Linked DNA regions of Homo sapiens: all the other regions are linked to region 1. The links are contacts of gene promoters, found by promoter capture Hi-C in blood cells and fetal thymus (Javierre and others, 2016). All regions are on one chromosome and are shown on one strand. The core of a region is centred on a gene start or on the middle of the fragment in contact, and the rest is flanking DNA. Distances in the headings are between cores, read along the strand shown.

Region 1 (4,845 bases), core at 155-2,654:
ATGGCAGCCTTCCTGGCAGCCATCCACTCTATTAATACCTGAATGTGGGCAGGGGCGAGTGCTAGGAAGGTGGGAGGCAGAAGGGAGGGCTGGGGCCCTGAGCAGGGAGCCTAAGACCCCTGAGCCACTGCCACATTAACAGGGGCCACTCTTTGGAACTTGCGTGCGAGCGCGCGCGCGCGCGCGCACACACACACACACACACACACACACACACACACATACACGCACCTCTCCTGGCCTCCTGGCATGTTTTTAAGCAGAGAGAGGGGCAGGTCAAGTATCCACATAACTGAAATCCAGCCCTGCTTCTTCTCACCCTTTGCTGTGTGACTCTAGGCAAAGTCGTGGGCTCCCTGAGCATCAGGTCCGCACCTTTCGGCTTGTAAATACTCGTCACCCCGTTTCCCTTCCCTTCCCTGAGAGGCTGATATGGCAAGGAATGCTGTCTCAAGAGAAGATGCCAGCGGGTGGCCGCTGTCCTGGCCTGTGGCTCTTCCCTGCTCCCTTCACCCTCTCAGGACCAGTCACAGGATGGGGGCCAGCCTCCCGCTCCCTATATGCCCATCAGTCCCCGAGGTGCGGGGTGGGAACTTGGAGAGCACCGTGCTGCATGGAACGCTCTTGTCACCAGCAAATGCCTCAGTGGCTATGTGGGAACACAAGACTAACCCCTCCCAAAGACCAGCAACCTGGCACCAGCCCATCCTCTCCAAGGTTCTGCTTTCAGGAAGCTCTGAGGGCACAGGAACTCGAGTGTGCCCATTTGTTTTTTGTGACTGGGCACCCTCACAGCCCCTGTGTACCTAAATGGTATCAGGGTGGCCTTTGGGTGCCCAGCCCCGGCCCGTGTGGTTTCCGAGGCGGACCTTCGCGTGCGGGGCAGGCAGAATGGGGTCCCCAGTACTGGGAAGGAGGGAGCTAACAGCTGGGAACATCGAGGCGGGAAAATGCAGTCCCAAACACTCCCCGCTGACCACACAGCCCACACCCCGCTCCCTTCTCTTCCACCCCGCCAGAAGAGCCCCGAGCGCCAGAAAGTTGGGGGTGGGGGCCCGGCCGGAGATCTGGCGGCGAGCACTCCGCAGCGTGCCCTGTCCCGGCTCCGAGCCTCGGCCTTCGGCTCCGGACCCCCACCCCGACTCCAGCCCGCCAGGCCCGCCCCGGGCTCCGACCCCCGGCCGCGCCCCTCCGCAGCCCCCCGCTTCCCGCCGCCTCCCGTGCCAGCCCCTACCTGCGGCGGCGGACTCCGGGAGCAGCAGAGAAGCCAGAGCCGCCAGCAGCAGCCCGAGCCGCGGTGGCGGCGGCAGCGGCAGCGGCGGGAGCCCCGGCCGCCCCATGCTCCGCCTCAGCGCCATCGGCGGCGACGCCGCACCATGCCGGGCCCGGCCCGCGAGCGAGGAGGGAGGAGGGCGGGGAGGAGGCGGCGGGAAGGGAGCGGGAGGGAGGAGGGCTGCGGGAGGGGCTGGGGCCGCCCGTGGGGCGGTGCTGAGGCGACCGCCTCCGAGACCCGCGCCCGCCTCCGGCCGCGGTCGCCGCCGTCAGCAGCGCGGGGTCCCCGGGGCCGCTCCCGCGCCACCGCGCTCCTTCCACTGCCGTCGCCGCCGTCGCCGCCGCTGATTCATGTTCTTCTCGGAGCCGCCGCCTCCTCCCGGCCCGCCCGCAGCCCGAGCTCGCACCGCCCCCCCGCGGAGCCCCGGCGACTGGCTCGGAGCGCGAATCCCAGCCAGCGCCGCAAACCCCCGCGGCCCCGCCGGCGCCCCGCCGGCACGCCGGCCCCAGCCGCCCCCTGGCCAAACCTGAGGATCCGGCTTGGCCTCCAGGATGGGCTCCCCGGCCACGCCCCTCCTTTCCCTAAACCCGCTCCGGCATCTTTTCTAACCCAGCCCTCCAGAGCCTTCCCTCAAAACCCCGCTGTCAGCCCCCACCACACCCCAACTCTTGTTCGGACTCTGATCCCAGAATCCAGCATCCCCCTCTCAGGACTTAGAGCACCTCAACCCCTAGACACTCCCATCCATCTGGCTCCCCGAAACTGCCGTGACCCGGGGCTCCCCCAACAGGATCGGCTAGCATCCCTTCGTGCCTCCCTTTCATTGAGCCATTCACCCAAAATCCCCATATTCATGTCCTATTGCCATGCCTTTATCTCCAAGTCCCTCCCACCTGAAAAATGCCCATTTTCTCCAGCCCCAATTGCCGTATGTTTTCCAACTTGGGTCCTGAGTTTCCCAAGATCTTGGTAATCCCCAGGTTTTACCTAATATATATCCCCACCACTACACTACACAGGCCAAAGCCTAATTGCCCGTATCTTTTTGGGCTGTCATTTTTCCTGGTTGCTTCCCCTGCTTCTACCCCTTTTCCCAGGACCTGGTGTGAAAGTTGGCTGTGTCGTCACACTGTCCAGTCAAACATTAGCTATTATTAGTAGACCACCTTGCACACAGTAGGCTTTCCATAAATAAATAGGCAGATGCCTGTTAAATGAATGAATAATTGCTTCAGAGCCTGCCCCACAACCAGTAATCACGAGGGTGGCCTTGCCCACAGACATCCTGTTAGGCACATGCAGAGCTGGTTCCAAACCAAGCCTACCAAGTGTGCTCCTCCCCTTGCCCTTCCCTCCAGGGGGAAGCCCACCCCACACCCCTTCCAGAGGTCCTGGGTAGAGAGGAGGGACCAGCCACTCAGCTCCGGTTGCCGCAGGCTCACTGGATCTTTTCAGGGATTCTCCTGAGCAGCAGGGGCCTGCCTCTTCTTCCACTTGGCCCCAGCAGTGCTTGTTTATTAATTACCCTAATGATAACAACAGCAGTGCTGGCAGCAGCCTGAGACCCAGCTGGGGGCGCCCCCAGGCGGCAGCAGGAGGAGAGACTCATGAGGCACTGTCAAGACATGGATGGCAGGGGCCAGATATCTCTGTCTCTGTTTCTTTCTTTTTTTTTTTTTAATTGGCATATTTGTTTATTTCTCAGTTTGTGAAAATGTTCTTAATTTGTTGATGTAGCAAACAAATTTCAACTTTGATTGCTATGAAAAAAACAAGATAATCTGCTTTGCAATGAACTTTATATAGTTAAACTGCATACAGGCAACATGCTATATATGAAAAAGTTACTAACTGATCTACAGGTATTACATACTGAAAAGAGTTAACAGTTTATTATAATTTATTTTATTTAACAATCTAGGAAGTTCGCAGCCATCAGCAGTTCTAGTACAATTTCAGGTGCAATTGGGAATTCAGGAATCTCGATGGAGCTGTTAGTGTAGCGAACCTTGTAGGTAAAATACATGCATACTTTCGATAGCACATGTGAAGGTATCTCTCTAAAATTGACCTCATTGGTTTCGTTCTCAGCAAACTGACCTCACAGCATAAACAAAAATTAACTTAAGACCAAAGACCTAAATTTAAAAGCCAAACCCATAAAACGCCTGGGCCACTCAACATGGCTTTTATCGTGCCTGATGTTAATGCATGTTCTCTTTTTACAATAAATTCATGGCCATCAGATGATATCAATTTGACATACGTGGCATCAGGGCCTTCACAGCCACCATAGGTTTTCTCCTCTCCATCCATTTTGTTCTTATGAAATTCTACTTTGCTTCCCCAGGAACTTTAGTAGTTTCCTGGTGAGGCGAGGACACAGAGTGTGTGGCTCACTTCCGTCTCCTCTGTCTCTGTTTCACTGAGCTCTCTGGCAATTATGTTCTTCTTCCTTCTTCCTTCTTCTTCCTTCTTTCTTCTTCTTCTTCCTCTCCCTCTCTTCCCCTTCCCCTTCCACTTCCCCTTCCCCTCCTCCTCCTCCTATTCTTCTCTGCTTCTTCCTCTTCCTCTCTTTCTTCTTCTTCTTCTTCTTTTTTTTTTTTAGATGAAGTTTCACGCTTGTCGTCCAGGCTGGAGTGCAATGGTGCGATCTTGGCTGACTGCAACCTCCACCTCATGGGTTCAAGCGATTCTCCTGCCACAGCCTCATGAGTAGCTGGGATTACAGGTGCCCACCACCACGTTCGGCTCATTTTTGTATTATTAGTACAGACAGGGTTTCACCATGTTGGCCAGGCTGGTCTCAAACTCCTGACCTTAGGTAATCCGCCCACCTCGGCATCCCAAAATACTGGGATTACAGGTGTGAGCCACTGTGCCTGGCCTCTCTGCCAATTTTCTTGAGCACTGTGGGTCAGCTTCAGGACCCTTTCCCAAAGGAAAAGTCTCGTTACTTTCCAGAATCCACAGTTTCTGAGTTTGGGCTGAGTCAGGGCAGGCAGACAATAGTCTGGGGCCGAAGGCAGAATTGCCTGGGCTGCTCTTGGGCACTTGTCACTTTTCCAAGCCCTCTCTCCCGCCTTTTCTCTGAGGGGGACTTCAAGTTTCCAGTGAAGGGGAGCCTCCTCCTCTTGATTCCAGCTGACATTAGTAAGATTCATTCTAGAGGATGTTGGACCCAGAGCCCAACCCAGCCTTTTACTTCCTTATCTCTCTTCATTCCCTCCGCACCATTTCCTGAGCTGATAGGGAATCCCACCCTAAAGGCCATCCTTTTCTACTGGTCAAAATGGGCTTCTCGGACATGTGATGGATGCCACTTACAGCCTTGACAAACTTCCCACCTCAGCCACCAGCCTGAGATACATCACTGTCACAGAGGCAGCACACTTTCTGTGTGGGACAGGGGGCCCTGAGTTCCTGCTTCCCCTACCCCTAATTCTAAATCTCTCTCAATTCATAGTATTTCTTTTTTTTTTTTTTTTTTTGAGACGGAGTCCCGCTTTGTCACCCAGGCTGGAGTGCAATGGCGTGATCTCGGCTCACTGCAACCTTCGCCTCCCAAAGTG
Region 2 (4,525 bases), core at 1,696-4,195, 190 kb before region 1:
ACCTTTAAAAAAAAAGTCAGTATAACTTGTTTGCTTGTCAAATTCCCTATTAGTACATTCAAGCAATGCCTCCTTGTATGATTAAGATACTTCAGGCCGGAGGCAGTTGCTCATGCCTGTAATCCCAGCACTTTTGGGAGGCCAACGTGGGTGGATCACCTGAGGTCAGGAGTTCAAGACCAGCCTGGCCAATATGGTGAAACCCTGTCTTTACTAAAAAAATACAAAAATTAGCTGGGCATGGTGGTGCCCACCTGTAATCCCAAGCTACTCGGGAGGCTGAGGCAGAAGAATCGCTTGAACCGAGAAGGCAGAGGATGCAGTGAGCCGAGATGGCACCACTGCACTCCAGCCTGGGCGACAAAGCGAGACTCTGTTAAAAAAAAAAAAAAAAAAAAAAAAACTTTAAAGGTTCTATTATGTAAGTTCCACTAATAGTAATAGTTTTCACTGGTTTTAAAGTTGAACTGTTTTTTGGTCTCATGTTAACTTGGGCTGACTTACAGTGTGAGACTGCAAAAAACACAAAAAAATCAGCAATATAACTCCTAAAGTCAATGAATTTACATCCATTCTTGAAAAAGATTAGGCTATGGAGAGAAGGTATAAGTCAAATGAATACAGAATCATCCAATTTTAGAGCAAGATCCTCCTTTATAAATGAGACAATGGAGGTACTCAAATAACCAATATAAGAACATTAAGACCAGCCTGGCCAAGATGGTGAAACCCCATCTCTACGTAAATACAAAAATTAGCTGGGGCGGTGGCAGGCTCCTGTAATCTCAGCTACTCAGGAGGCTGAAGCAGGAGAATTGCTTGAGCCCCAGAGGTGGAGGTTGCAGTGAGCTGAGTTCGCACCACTGCACTCCAGCCTGGGCGACAGAGTAAGACTCCATCGCTAAAATAAAATATTTCAACATTTTAGATTTTTAAAACAGTAATCTTTTTGTCTTATTTTATGTGCATAAAGCAGTTAAGCAATAACAGAAAAGGACCAGATAACACAGAGGCAGAATGAATCTCAAGGAAGTGAGATTGTAAAACAAGCAGTTGTATGACAATCAGTGCAGACGGCTGTCATCTGCTCCTGAAAAGAAGGACACAGTTTAGATTTTAGGGCACTCCACAGGCAGCTGGTTATGATCTCCCCATGTTTTACATCAGACCTTATGTCAGGGGTCAGCAAACCACAGCCCACTAACAACTTCTTTTTTTTTTTTAACCCGAGACAGAGTTTTGTTCTTGTCGCCCAGGCTGGAGTGCAATGGCGCGATCTGGGCTCACTGCAACCTCAGCCTCCCGGGTTCAAGCGATTCTCCTGCCTCAGCGTTCTGAGTACTGGGATTACAGGCACCCATCACCACACCTGGCTAATTTTTTGTATTTTTAGTAGACACGGGGTTTTGTCATGTTGGCCAGACTAGTCTCAAACTCCTGACGTCAGGTGATCCACCCACCTCGGCCTCCCAAAGTGCTGGGATTATGGGTGTGAGCCACCGCACCTGGACTTTTTTACTAAAGTTTTAATGGAATACAGCTGCTTTTATACTACAACAGCAGTCAATTAGTCGCAACAGAGAGCCATCTAGCTCTCTGCAAAGTCTAAAACTATTTACTATCTGGCCTTTTACAGAAAACGTTTGTACAACTCCTGCACTGTATCAATACCTGACAGTTACTTATTTAAGTAAATACAACAACCCTAAATAGGAATCCTATAAAAAAAACTTCAGGAAAATAATAAAAATAGGCCATAAAGGTCATATTACAAAGGACGAAGACCAAAGTCTAGAATATAAATTCCAGAGACTAAATATTTAATTTTTGGATATAAAAGCAACTCAAGGCAAAATGGTACTAGAATATGATGGTATTTTCCAGTTTTTCTCCAAAAACAAAAACATCTCTCTATATGCAAGTGAATAAGTTCTCCTCTAGTTCTAAGGTCACCCATTCCCAGTTTCTGATTAACATCTACCAGAGAAGCTACAACCACCTCACATAGAAAACGTCATAGAAATTGACTGAGGTCAAATGGGAGTAGTGGTTTCGGGATTTTAAAAATCTAACTCGGTAGGGACTCTCAAGCACCTATCCCCCAAATATTTAAGCCAGCCTTCCCATAAAACCAGACAAGTCTCAAAGAATAAAAGCTCAATAAATGATGCTTGATTGACACAGCCTAAAGAACTACTAAGCCATTTAAGTCATAATCTTAAACCTAGGCATCCAATTAAATGTATTATGCCTTAGTGCTCTTCTGAAAAAGCTTCTGTCTTTAATAAATCATTTAAATCCTTTAGGTTTCAGTCACAACAAAAATGGGCTCACCACCTTTTCTACATCATCAACCTCCTCACTCTGGTAGTCAGAAACAACATCCACAATTTCATCAATAGAATCATCAGTTTTCTCATTATCATCTTCATCATCTTCTTCCAAATCCAAAACAGTGAAGTCAGCACTGCTTCTCCCACCCTTCTTCTCTTGCTTTGGTTGTATCTGTTCTCCAGGTAGCAGTAAGTGACCCTGAAAATGTCCATTCCCTCTGCTGCTTTTTGCAGCTCTCCTAGGAACAATGGAGAAGGCTGAAGGATTAGAAATCCTACTCCAAGAATCACATTCAGTTTTCAAAACTCTGGCATCTTCAGTAATTCCACTTTTTCCAAGTAAGTCAGAGATGCCTTGTTCTTGCTGAAACACATCTGAATTTTCCTGACATGTCTTTGTTTCTTTAATTAACTGCTCGTCTGCCTCTTTCTTACATTCCTGTGAAGCTCCAACACATTTCCTGGTTAAGGGGCCCTTCAGATGTTTTCTCCATCTTTCCCTGTCTTTCTCCAGAGAGTCTCCACATTCCTTCTCTTTGGCCTCTGGCTGTAGATTAGATTGCTGCTCCATAACTTTGCTTCCTGACAATTCAAATTTACTTTCTTCCTTAAAGGTGACTGGAAATTCACTTGAGTTTTCTTCTGGATTGTCAAATCCTTTCTGCTGTTCCACCTTCACATCACCAAGTTTTTGATGCTGTACTTTACTTAAATTTTGGACTGTCTTATTACTGGCTTTTTCAGAAATGGTCCTAACTTCCAGAACAGCCACTTTTTCTTTGGAACTCTTACGATTCCTAGCCCCATATTCTTCATTAACATCTTTATAATCTTGATCTGTATGTGACCCAGTGATACAGGAATGCTCAGATGGTTTGACAGTTGCACAACCTTCTTCTGGAAGGCATTCTTCATCCAAATGATCACCCCTATCTTCCAAGGAATCATTCAGAGTTTCTTCTGAGGTAGCAGCTCCTGAGTTTTGTTTTATTACATTAGCCTCAGGGTCTACAGCCTCTCCTTCTGACTGTAGAACCTTCTTCGTTTCTTGCTCTCTTTTTATTGAGTTTGTTTCATCTTTCTGGTCTGGATTCTGAGATTCTCTCTTCATCTGAAGGGAAGCAACATGCTGAAGAATGGAGCTAGGAACAGGCTTTTGTCCTGGGAGCTGTAACAAGGCAAAACTACCAGACTGGAGAGGAATAAGACTGGCTGTACCAACAGGCTGTCCTCCTGAGCTATAAGTTATTTTGGTTTCAGAGCCTGTTTTACTTGCAAAGCTTTGTGGTTCAGGAGGAGAAATCCTCAGGGTCAATGTACCAGCCTGAGACACAAAACTAGCTCCAGAGGAAAGCAATGATGGTGCCTGAGTGATAACATTCACTGCTGAAGAAGACCCAACAGCTTGAATTACAGGATTCATGACAGAGAAAGCAGAGGACGAAGTGGAAGATGGCGGAGTCTCAGAGGGTTTGGAAGGAGCAGGTAACCGGATTCCCATCACAGACCCTGGTTTAAAAAATAAGAGAGAAATTTTTAAATCATGACTGCCCATATCAAGACTTCCAATGTTTGCTTTTCTTTTTGGAAAAGTAACTCTTAAGAGATGAAGAAAAACAATCTTGGTGTATTAACATACCATATGGCCAAGTGATTCAACAAAAGAAAAGTTCATAAAAAAGAACTTTATACCTGGGTTCCGAAACATGACAGGCTGTAAGTTGGGCTGGGTATTAGAGCCTCGAAGCTGATGCAAAGGTAGAAGCTGGACAATCTGCCCATTAGGGTGCCTGAATAAGTTCATTCCACTTGGACTCCTAACAGGCTGCAAGACCATCCGATGTCCCTGAAGTTGTGTGTTTGAGACAGGTCTAAGAGTAGGAGAACCCTGCTGCACTGGAATCAACAACAATCGAGGTCCAGCACGTTTCACTGTGTTAGGAGAGACCTGTGGAGTAGCCACTGGAATTTGAGCAGCATTTTCTGAAAAACAGGAAATGGAAACATGGTACCCAAATTCCCCTTTAACACACGTAGGAAAAAAAAGTATTCATAATATTTTTTAAGACACAGTCTTGCTTTGTTGCTCAGGCTGGAGTGCAATGACACAACCTCGACTGACTACAACCTCCGCACCTCCCTAGTTCAAGTGATTCTTCCACTTCAGCATACCGAGTAGCTGCGACTACAGG
Region 3 (4,798 bases), core at 1,310-3,809, 220 kb before region 1:
TGACCTCATGATCCGCCCGCCTCGGCCTCCCAAAATGCTAGGATTACAGGCATGAGCCACTGCGCCCGGCCTGTATTTCATAATTTTTTAAAGTCTTGTTTTCTTAAGTGCTAGCATCTGTAACAGCATCAGCCAAACTTATGAAGAAAAGACCAGAAGAGCCACTAAAGGAAGATGGGTCTCAAAGGCTGATGAGAACTGTGATAAATAAGGAGCAACACTCAAATCCTGAACCACCAAATAAACTTTCTTCTCAGGATTTCTCCAAAAGAACATTTGACAAAGTGGAAAAAAAAAAATCAGCCATATGGTTTCACAAAGGGTTGTTCTAAGATCTTCAAGTAAATTAAAATCTCAATTATAAACAGAGGGGCAGACAGTTTTTGTTTGTTTTTAAGATGGGGTCTCACTCTGTTGCCCAGGCTGGAATACAGTGGTGCCATCATAGCTCACTGCAGCCTCAAACTCCTGGGCTCGAGCAATCATCCCGCCTCAGCCTCCTAAGATGCTGGGGCTATAGGTGTGCACCACCATGCCCGGCATAGCAGGGAAAGGAAAATATCTTTAGCTTCATTACAGTTTTAGGAGGAGAGATAAGGCATATAAACTTTAAAATCCCAGCAAGAAAAAAAAAAAAACAAAAAAACCCACAGCATTGTTTTACCAAATAGGGAAGCAACCAAAAAAAGCATTGCACACTTTTGGAGGCCGAGGCAGGCAGATCACTTGAGGTCAGGAGTTCGAGACCAGCCTGGCCAACATGTTGAAATCCTGTCTCTACTGAAAAAACAAAAAGTAGCCAGGCATGGTGGCACATGCCTGTAATCCCAGCTACTCGGGAGGCTGAGGCAAGAGAATCACTTGAACCCGGGAGGTGGAGGTTGCAGTGAGCTGAGATCACGCCACTGCACTTCAGCCTAGGTGACAGAGTGAGACTCTGTCTCAAAAAAGAAAAAAGGAAAAAAAAAAAAGCAAAAAAAAAGCATTGCAAACATTGTGACAAAATGAGAGGGGGGAATTTACTCCCTTGAAATCTAGGAGGAGCTATCCATACTGTAAACTCATTCTTCTGTTAAGTGTCCTTCAAAACCAGAGGAAAATAATGTGACCAATGAAGAAGCACTGGACCTGTTGCTATAACTGTTGAAAGGAAGGAAGGAAGGATTTGGAAAATCTGGACATTCAAAAATACCAACGCTAAAAATCCACACTACCCAGTCTGGCTGTCATACTCACTTTTATTTCTTGCCTTCCTCACCAACTTTTTTTTTTTTTTTTAAGGTAACAGAAGTTAAAGTAAAATCCACAAATGGGGTAATAAACACCCAAGAAGGTAGGCAGGTCTCATTCTATACCTCTACTGAGAATTGCTATGAAAAGGAAGCTGCCAGAAAACCTGGCTTTGTCCTGCATTAAACAATGGAGCCCAGAGGAGACGCTTAGCCTGGAGCAGTGGGAACATGAAGTATAATATAACAAATCCTTCTGAAAACACTGTAGCTTTATTTCTTTAACAACACTGCAGTCTGAACATGAAGTAAAACCAACGGATACTCTGAGGATGAGTGGGACAGACCATGTGCTCAGAGAAGCTTAGTTTGAATAAACATAGCCCCAATTTCAAACCTTGGACTGTTTTCTCCAAACAAAGGGTCAGTGATAACAGCATCAAGCCCAACTTCAGACTCAGAGGGTTGGTGGGGAGGTTACAGATGTCAGGCTGAAGCCTCATTTCTACCTGTTTTTTCATCAGTCAAGAAATGAAAATACACAGGTGACAAATGAAAGACATTCAAAATACCAGCAGGAAATAAGACATTGACTCAAATCCAAGAAGGGAACCTGCCCTAAATTGCAAACTGAAAGAGAGAAAAACTTGGAAAGCAGTAGTGCTCTTCCACTTTGAAATGAGTGAGGCCAAGTAGGTGAGAGGAGGTTTCGAAAGACAACTCCCAGCCTGAAGAGGCTGGGCTATTTTTAGACAGTAAATGAAGAGGTGTTGGGTCCAGGGAGAGAAGCATCCTCTCTCTCCAGTGAGAATCACTTTGAAGGCTGAGGGCAGCTGCAGGCACCGGAAGGAGGGATGAAATGGTGATCAAAGAAACAAAACTAGGAGAACATTGACATTTTTCATTGTATACCACCTGTTGTGAGGATCTCAAGACACTTCACAAGCCTTATTTCAAGAGACCTCAGAGACAGAAAATTCAACAAGAGCTTTGAAGGTCATTCACAAAGGCTGGTGAGGGGCATAGCTGCTGGCCACAGGGACATCCACTCTTAGTCATCTATTCTATGTGGAGAACTCAGAGCGTGTGTATTGAACACTAAGAAATGACTGGAGCCTGGCGCAGAGGCAAGCACCACTAGTCCCAGCTACTCAGAAAGGCAGGGGCTGGGCATGGTGGCTCATGCCTGTAATCCCAGCACTTTGGGAGGCTGTGGCAGGAGGAGCCCTTGAGGCCAGAAGTTTGAGACCAGCCTGAGCAACATCGTAAGACTCTGTCTCTACAAAAAACAAAAATAACTGGCCGGGCGTGGTGGCTCATACCTGTAATCCCAGCACTTTGGGAGGCTGAGGCAGGCAGATCACGAGGTCAGGAGTTTGAGACCAGCCTGACCAACATGGTGAAACACCGTTTCTACTAAAAATAAAAAAATTAGCCCGGCGTGGTGGCACGCGCCTGTAATCCCAGCTACTCAGGAGGCTGAGGCAGGAGAATCGCTTGAACCCGGGAGGCAGAGTTTGCAGTGAGCCGAGATCACGCCACTGTACTCCAGCCTGGGCAACAGAGCAAGACTCCGTCTCGAAAAAAATGAGTATGTTTCCCCAATACCAAATCATATATGCGTTCAAACACTGAGCAAAAGCTGAAATTAGAGTATTGCCACTTTTTCTCCTTCATGAAACCCACCCAACCAAACTCTTCTTAGAGTCACTTCTCAAAAGGCTCGAAGTACCACCACACAACTATACAGGAAAAAAACTTGGGGAAACAAATAGAGAAAGAAGAATTAGATTTACAATTAAAAAAACACAACTAGAAGAAAGTCATCTTACCCATTGTTTCCAGAAGGAATAATATAACCTAGATCAGATTAATGGCTCTTAAGGAGGAGGACGATCTCAATACCTCCTTCAGTTACTTTTTAAAAATCTAGCAACCCTCCAGCACAGACAATCCTTTTGTAACCCTAACTTAAATCTTGCCTGCTGGGCTTTGGTCCATTTCTATCCTTTGTCCTTGAAAACAAGCCCAGCTCCCTCCACATAAAAATCTTTCAGAAACTTTCAGAGGAGGAGGGTTAGCTATCAAGAACACATACATTTGCTTCTTAAGGAAAACACAGCCCAACTTAGAGATGAGAGGCAGGAAATGACAAGTCTACAGGATTTGAACTTGGGTATTTACTGATAACTTCAAGTCACACTTCACCAAGACTAAGCTGATTTAGCATAAAACTTTAAATCAGTCTTTTCCAATGTACTCCACTGAAGAGACTCCCCTCCCTCTGAAAAAGCTTAATAAAAATCTCAGCACTCATCTACTCTTTGATGTAACTTAAATCTCCACCTCCACTGGCTCTCTCACACCAGCTTTTAGCCATATTTTTAACTAGGTCTCCCCTGAATTAAGAACCCTTTACTGAGCACTGCTTTCTGCATACGTGGACTTCTTCTCTCTTATGTTCTTCACACCTAATTAGGCTGCATCTCTACTTCTTTGTCACCATTTTATTAATCGTAGTTTTGATCTCTCTTCTAAAGAGGTCATAAATTCCTCCTGATTATTTTATTCACCTGGATGTCCAAGTTTATCCCGCACTATATTTGACATCTTTAAATTAGTCTCATTTATTTTTTTTAGTACTTACTGCCTATCTTACACTGTCCTAAACGGTGTGATGTAAAGGAAATAAAGAGCATGACCCCGATCCTTAGGAAATGAAGACATACATAAAATAACAATAAGATATTGGTTTCAAGGTGGGGGACTAGTCACAGAAAGCCCTGTGGCTCTGATAAATACAGAATTGGACCTAAAAATAAGTGTACAATTTGGTGTAAAGGAGAAGGCTACTTTAGATAGAAAGAACAGTATAATTCAAAGCAGGAGGCCATCTGAAGTAAGAGCTGCATAAAAGCTTTCTGACATTTCCTTCTTTGCCCCCCAAAAGGGGCATGTACCTTTTTGTCTTCAAATTTTATTTGAGAATTAGCTATCCATGAATCACAAATTTCCTGTTATCATGATTACTCACAGCCACCACATGTTAGAGCAACTCACAGAGCTTAATACACTAGAGTAATCACAAGGCAGGCTTTTAGAATAATCTCAGGTAGAGACCTTTTACTAAGGAGTGTGGGGAGTCTGGCATCTCTAGGGTCCTGGGCGCACAAAGACAGCTACTCCTCTTGGGTGCTAAAGATATGCACCAGTCATTTTGCTGCCAGACCATTCAAGGGTCATTCAACTTCAGCTAAGTATTTCTTTCATACACAGCTTCAGGACAGACAAAGCCATCTAAAGCAGTCTGAAGCACTGAATTCCTATTTTAAACAGGGAATGGTAAATGGTCTTGCCAGGGATGCCCCTTTTCCACTGTTTTCCTGGAGAGCTCTTCTCCACCTGCCTTAGGACTCACAGTTCAAGCATCCCTTCCTCTGTGAAGCCTTTCCTTTTTTTTTTTTTTTTGAGACGGAGTCTTGCTCTGTTACCCAGGCTAGAGTGCACTGGCAGGATCTGAGCTCACTGCAACCTCAGCCTCCCGGGTTCAGGCGAGTCTCCTGCCTCAG
Region 4 (4,464 bases), core at 1,941-4,440, 140 kb before region 1:
CCCAAAACAGGACTCCACTTCACACATTGAAAAGTAAGTACCAGACAGATTACAGATTTAATTGTTTTTCAAAAAAACAAAACTGTGTCAGCATGTAGTTGAATAAATTTTAAAAACCTTAGGATTAAATACAAACTTGCACCAAATGTAGAATCTATAAAGAAGGTGAAAAGTAATAGCTCAGACACCTTTTGTTTGGCTGTGTTTTTAAAGCTTTGAGTTAGGTGCCCAAAAAACTATTAGCTGCCACCACTTCAGAGACATCACATAGCCACTCCAGCTTCTACTGAACTATGAGCAGACCTGAGAATTTTGGGCCCATTTTTCCATATGACAACAATCCACTGATGCAGCTGTCCCTTTAGAAGAAGTGCCTGTACTCTACCCGACCAGAGTCCAACTCTACCCCCCAAATTCAGGCTAATTTCACTATATATGTTACCTAGTCAGTTTCCATAAACACTGGCCTTTGAACACCCCATTCCATTAAGGAAACGATTACAAATTTGACTAAGATGTCTATAAAAGAAAGAAAAACAGTCAAAGCTTAGCCAACCAGCAAATACTAGGCAAATAAACCAGAGCAAAAGGACCAGCTGCAAGCACTGAATATATTTAACTCTAGAACTAAGATTTTTAAAATGTGGGAGATTAAGTTAAAAGAACACAATATAAATGTCATAATATTTCTACATTATCAAGAAAATAACAAAAAAAATGGAAGTGGAAAAGGGAGAAGACAGGTTAAGTTAAAGATAGGGAGAAATGAAGAAAGGAAAAGGGGAGAAAAAAAGATAGGGAGAAATAAGATAATATTATTTAAATAAAATAGCAGAAGCTAAAGCTGACAATAAACAGCAGCAAACGTTATCTGCAAGATTGCTATGATGTGACTGTCTATTACAATCCACAGCAATCAGCCCACATTGATTGACTGAGACTGGGATCTGCACACTTTTAAGATCGCACTGTCACACAAGCTGCCTTCCATTAAAGCAAAAATTCTTCAAGTATTACCATTTGATTTAGAAACGGAATGACCAGCATATAAATCTTTTGTTTGATAACTTATAATGTTTAGACTCTCAGGTAAATGAACTACTTATAGTGTAAATAGTCTAGACACCCTTCTGAAAATTAATGAGTCAAAAATTCAAAAAACTACTCCAAGATGCCTATCTAAAATCAAAGATAGTCGTAAGAAACTAAAAATTGGGGCACAGCCTAAAATTTTTCATTACACCCCAAAACAGGAAAATTGGTAGTGATCATGATGTTAATAACCATAGTAGATATGTTTTTTTAAAGATTAAGCAACATAATCAAGGTCAAGATAATGCATTACAATAAAATAAAGATAAAAATGAAAACTGCAGCCATAAAAAAGAATGAGTTCATGCCCTTTGCAGGGACATGGATGAAGCTGGAAGCCATTATTCTAAGCAAACTAACATAGGAACAGAAAACCAAACACTGCATGTTTTCACTCGTAAGTGGGAGATGAACAATGAGAACACATGGATGCAAGGAGGGGAACATCACACACCAGAGCCTGTTGGTGGGGAGGGAGAGCATTAGGACAAACACCTAATGCATGCAGGGCTTAAAACCTAGATGACAGGGCCGGGCGCGGTGGCTCACGCCTGTAATCTCAGCACTTTGGGAGGCCGAGGCGGGCAGATCATGAGGTCAGGAGATCGAGACCATCCTGGTTAACACAGTGAAACCCCGTCTCTACTAAAAATACAAAAAAAATTAGCCGGGCATGGTAGCAGGCGCCTGTAGTCCCAGCTACTTGGGAGGCTGAGGCAGGAGAGTGGTGTGAACCCAGGAGGCAGAGCTTGCAGTGAGCTGAGATCGTGCCACTGCACTCCAGCCTGGGCGAGAGCGAGACTGCGCATCAAAAAAAAAAAAAAAAAAAAAAACCTCGATGACAGGTTGATAGGTACAGGAAACCACCATAGCACATGTATAACTATGTAACCTGCACATTCTGTACACGTATCCCAGAACTCAAAGTAAAATTTTAAAAAAAAAAGATAATGAAAATTTTAAATTAACTTCCCAGTGGTACATCAAATATATAAAATAGATGTTTGCAGCCAAAACATGAGACAGAAAAGTATTCTACTGTTTACACACCTAAATATACTACTAAAGGACAAGGAAGACCCTTCCTCCAAAATTATAAAAACAAACACATAATTGGGAGGCCGAGGCGGGCGGATCACAAGGTCAGGAGATCAAGACCATCCTGGCTAACACGGTGAAACCGTCTCTACTAAAAATACAAAAAAATTAGCCAGGCGCGGTGGCAGGCGCCTGTGGTCCCAGCTACTTGGGAGGCTGAGGCAGGAGAATGGCATGAACCCAGGAGGCGGAGCTTGCAGTGAGCAGAGATTGCACCACTGCACTCCAGCCGCCTGGGCGACAGAGCGAAACTCCGTCTCAAACAAACACACACACACACACATAAACAAAAGCAACCAAATTAAGATGAGAAACGGGAAGGGGAGAATACCAGGTTATAAGAATGAACAAAGAAAATATCACTTGCTTTACCATGATACATTTTTTTCTTACATAAGATATTAGACATGGTTTTTAAACTAAAGGGAAGAATTATGGAGACAGAGAAGAGAAAAATATGCAAACTGAAAGACGTGCTGAAAGAAATGAAATCAAGGCTAGAAAGAAAGAGGAAAAAACAGAAAAAAAGAGATGAGAAAGAGAGAGGAAAAAGAGGAGAAACAGTAGGGAAGAAAGAAAAAAAGAAAACAAAAAAAAAGAAGTCGCTAGTCTATTACCTTCTTGAAGACCAGGATGTATCACCTGCTTGTGCCGCAAAGTCTTCAAATCTTCTATCAATTCCTTTTCCAACTGGGAAATTCTTGCTCTGTAACCTACACCCAAAATAAATAGTAATAAAATAAGCTACTGTACACTACAGACAAATGAATGTTGCATGTTTCATTGCTGGAGCCCAAACCACAAATACAACTCTTTTTATACTATTTTATAATACCTGAGTCATTTGTGGTTGATGCCTGGAGACTAGAAGATTCTTCTGTTGTCCCATCAACTGCATGAATGTCTAGAGCTTCCTATACATCAAAAAAAAAAAAAAATAGTAGTTCATATTGCTTCTGAAAACTTAAATGTAAAACAGGATTAAAAAAAACTTAAAGACCAGAAGGAAAATATCTCCATGCCTACAGTTACGCTAACATTGGCAGAACAGGAGCAATTTTTTCATACTTTTTGATATTTTCTAAGTGTTCTACATTAATATTACTTTAATAATCAGAAGGGGAAAAGGGGGAAGTAAAAAAATGTGAATACGATGTCATACTGAGCTAACTGACCTCAAAGTATACGCCAATTTGCATGTTCACTTCTCAGAGCCTATATTCAGATAGCTTACTCAGCTAACAAGAAGGGAGGAAAAGAACAGGTAGAAGGGATTAAATATCCAACATCTGTGTAGTCAATTAAGAAAGACAGCCTGGCACAGTGGCTCACGCCTATAATCCCAGCACTTTGGGAGGCCGAGGCAGGTGGATCACAAGGTCAGGAGATTGAGACCATCCTGGCCACATGGTGAAACCCTGTCTCTACTAAAATAAAAAAAATAGCTGGGCATGGTGATGCACACCTGTAGTCCCAGCTACTCGGGAGGCTGAGGCAGGGGAACTGCTTGAACCCGGGAAACAGAGGTTGCAGTGAGCCAAGATTGTGCCACTGCACTCCAGCTGGTGACAGAGCAAGATTCCGTCTCAAAAAAAAAAAAAAAAAGAGGCCAGGGGCAGTGGCTCACGCTTGTAATTCCAGCACTTTGGGAGGCTGAGGCAGGAGGATCACGAGGCCAGGAGATCGAGACCATCCTGGCTAATATGGTGAAACCCCGTCTCTACTAAAAATACAAAAAAAATTAGCCGGGCATGGTGGCGAGCACCTGTAGTCCCAGCTACTCGGGAGTCTGAGGCAGGGGAATGGCAAGAACACAGGAGGCGGAGTTTGCAGTGAGCCAAGATTGCGCTACTGCACTCCAGCATGAGCCACAGACCGAGACTCCATCTCAAAAAATAAATAAAAAAAGACTGGGCTTCTATAAAAATTTCCAAGAAAAATAATCTGGTTGAAGAGTCAGAGTGGAATAAACAGAGACTTCAATGTGTAAGACAGGAGAGTTAAGATGACTGTTAATATTTGGTTCTCCAATGGTACTCTACTACTACTACTGAAAACCAGGGCCAGGAGCGGTGGCTCATGCATGTAATCCCAGCACTTTGGGAGGCTGAAGCAGGCAGACTGCTGGAGGCCAGAAGTTAGAAATTAGCTGGCCAACATTGCAAAACCCCGTCTCTACCAAAATTACAAAAATTAGCTGGGTGTGGTGGCACACGCCTGTAATCCCAGCTACTCGTGAGGCTGGGGCACGAGAATGGCTTGAACTCGGGAGAC

The links. The method cuts DNA at HindIII sites, captures the fragments that hold promoters and counts their contacts. A CHiCAGO score of 5 or more calls a contact.
Region 2: a fragment that was not itself captured here is called in contact with the fragment with the promoter of TYRO3 in region 1 in 2 of 17 cell types (endothelial precursors and M1 macrophages); the score reaches 5.9 in endothelial precursors.
Region 3: a fragment that was not itself captured here is called in contact with the fragment with the promoter of TYRO3 in region 1 in 1 of 17 cell types (M1 macrophages); the score reaches 5.1 in M1 macrophages.
Region 4: a contact is called between a fragment that was not itself captured here and the fragment with the promoter of TYRO3 in region 1, in 2 of 17 cell types (M2 macrophages and M1 macrophages). The highest score is 6.0, in M2 macrophages.

What each region holds. Positions count from the first base shown.
Region 1 is chr15:41,555,771-41,560,615 of GRCh38, reverse strand. It overlaps TYRO3 (TYRO3 protein tyrosine kinase), which reads right to left and starts at 1,404. Exons shown (of 19, transcript NM_006293.4): 1 at 1,235-1,404. The coding sequence starts at 1,358. It also overlaps the pseudogene ELOCP2. RefSeq lists enhancers at 276-917, 1,484-1,985 and silencers at 789-989, 1,296-1,465, 1,476-1,615, 1,554-1,720, 1,666-1,755. The HindIII fragment of the contact is 16,850 bases long and covers 1-4,845 here.
Region 2 is chr15:41,748,428-41,752,952 of GRCh38, reverse strand. It overlaps MGA (MAX dimerization protein MGA), which reads right to left. Exons shown (of 24, transcript NM_001400225.1): 16 at 4,026-4,316; 17 at 2,338-3,842. Among named protein-coding and RNA genes, the nearest start is that of MAPKBP1, 24 kb to the left of the region's middle. The HindIII fragment of the contact is 1,341 bases long and covers 2,275-3,615 here.
Region 3 is chr15:41,777,240-41,782,037 of GRCh38, reverse strand. All of the region lies in intron 2 of MAPKBP1 (mitogen-activated protein kinase binding protein 1), which reads right to left. Among named protein-coding and RNA genes, the nearest start is that of MAPKBP1, 5.2 kb to the right of the region's middle. The HindIII fragment of the contact is 1,930 bases long and covers 1,595-3,524 here.
Region 4 is chr15:41,697,503-41,701,966 of GRCh38, reverse strand. MGA (MAX dimerization protein MGA) reads right to left here. Exons shown (of 24, transcript NM_001400225.1): 4 at 3,026-3,104; 5 at 2,808-2,903. Among named protein-coding and RNA genes, the nearest start is that of MIR626, 8.2 kb to the right of the region's middle. The HindIII fragment of the contact is 5,283 bases long and covers 549-4,464 here.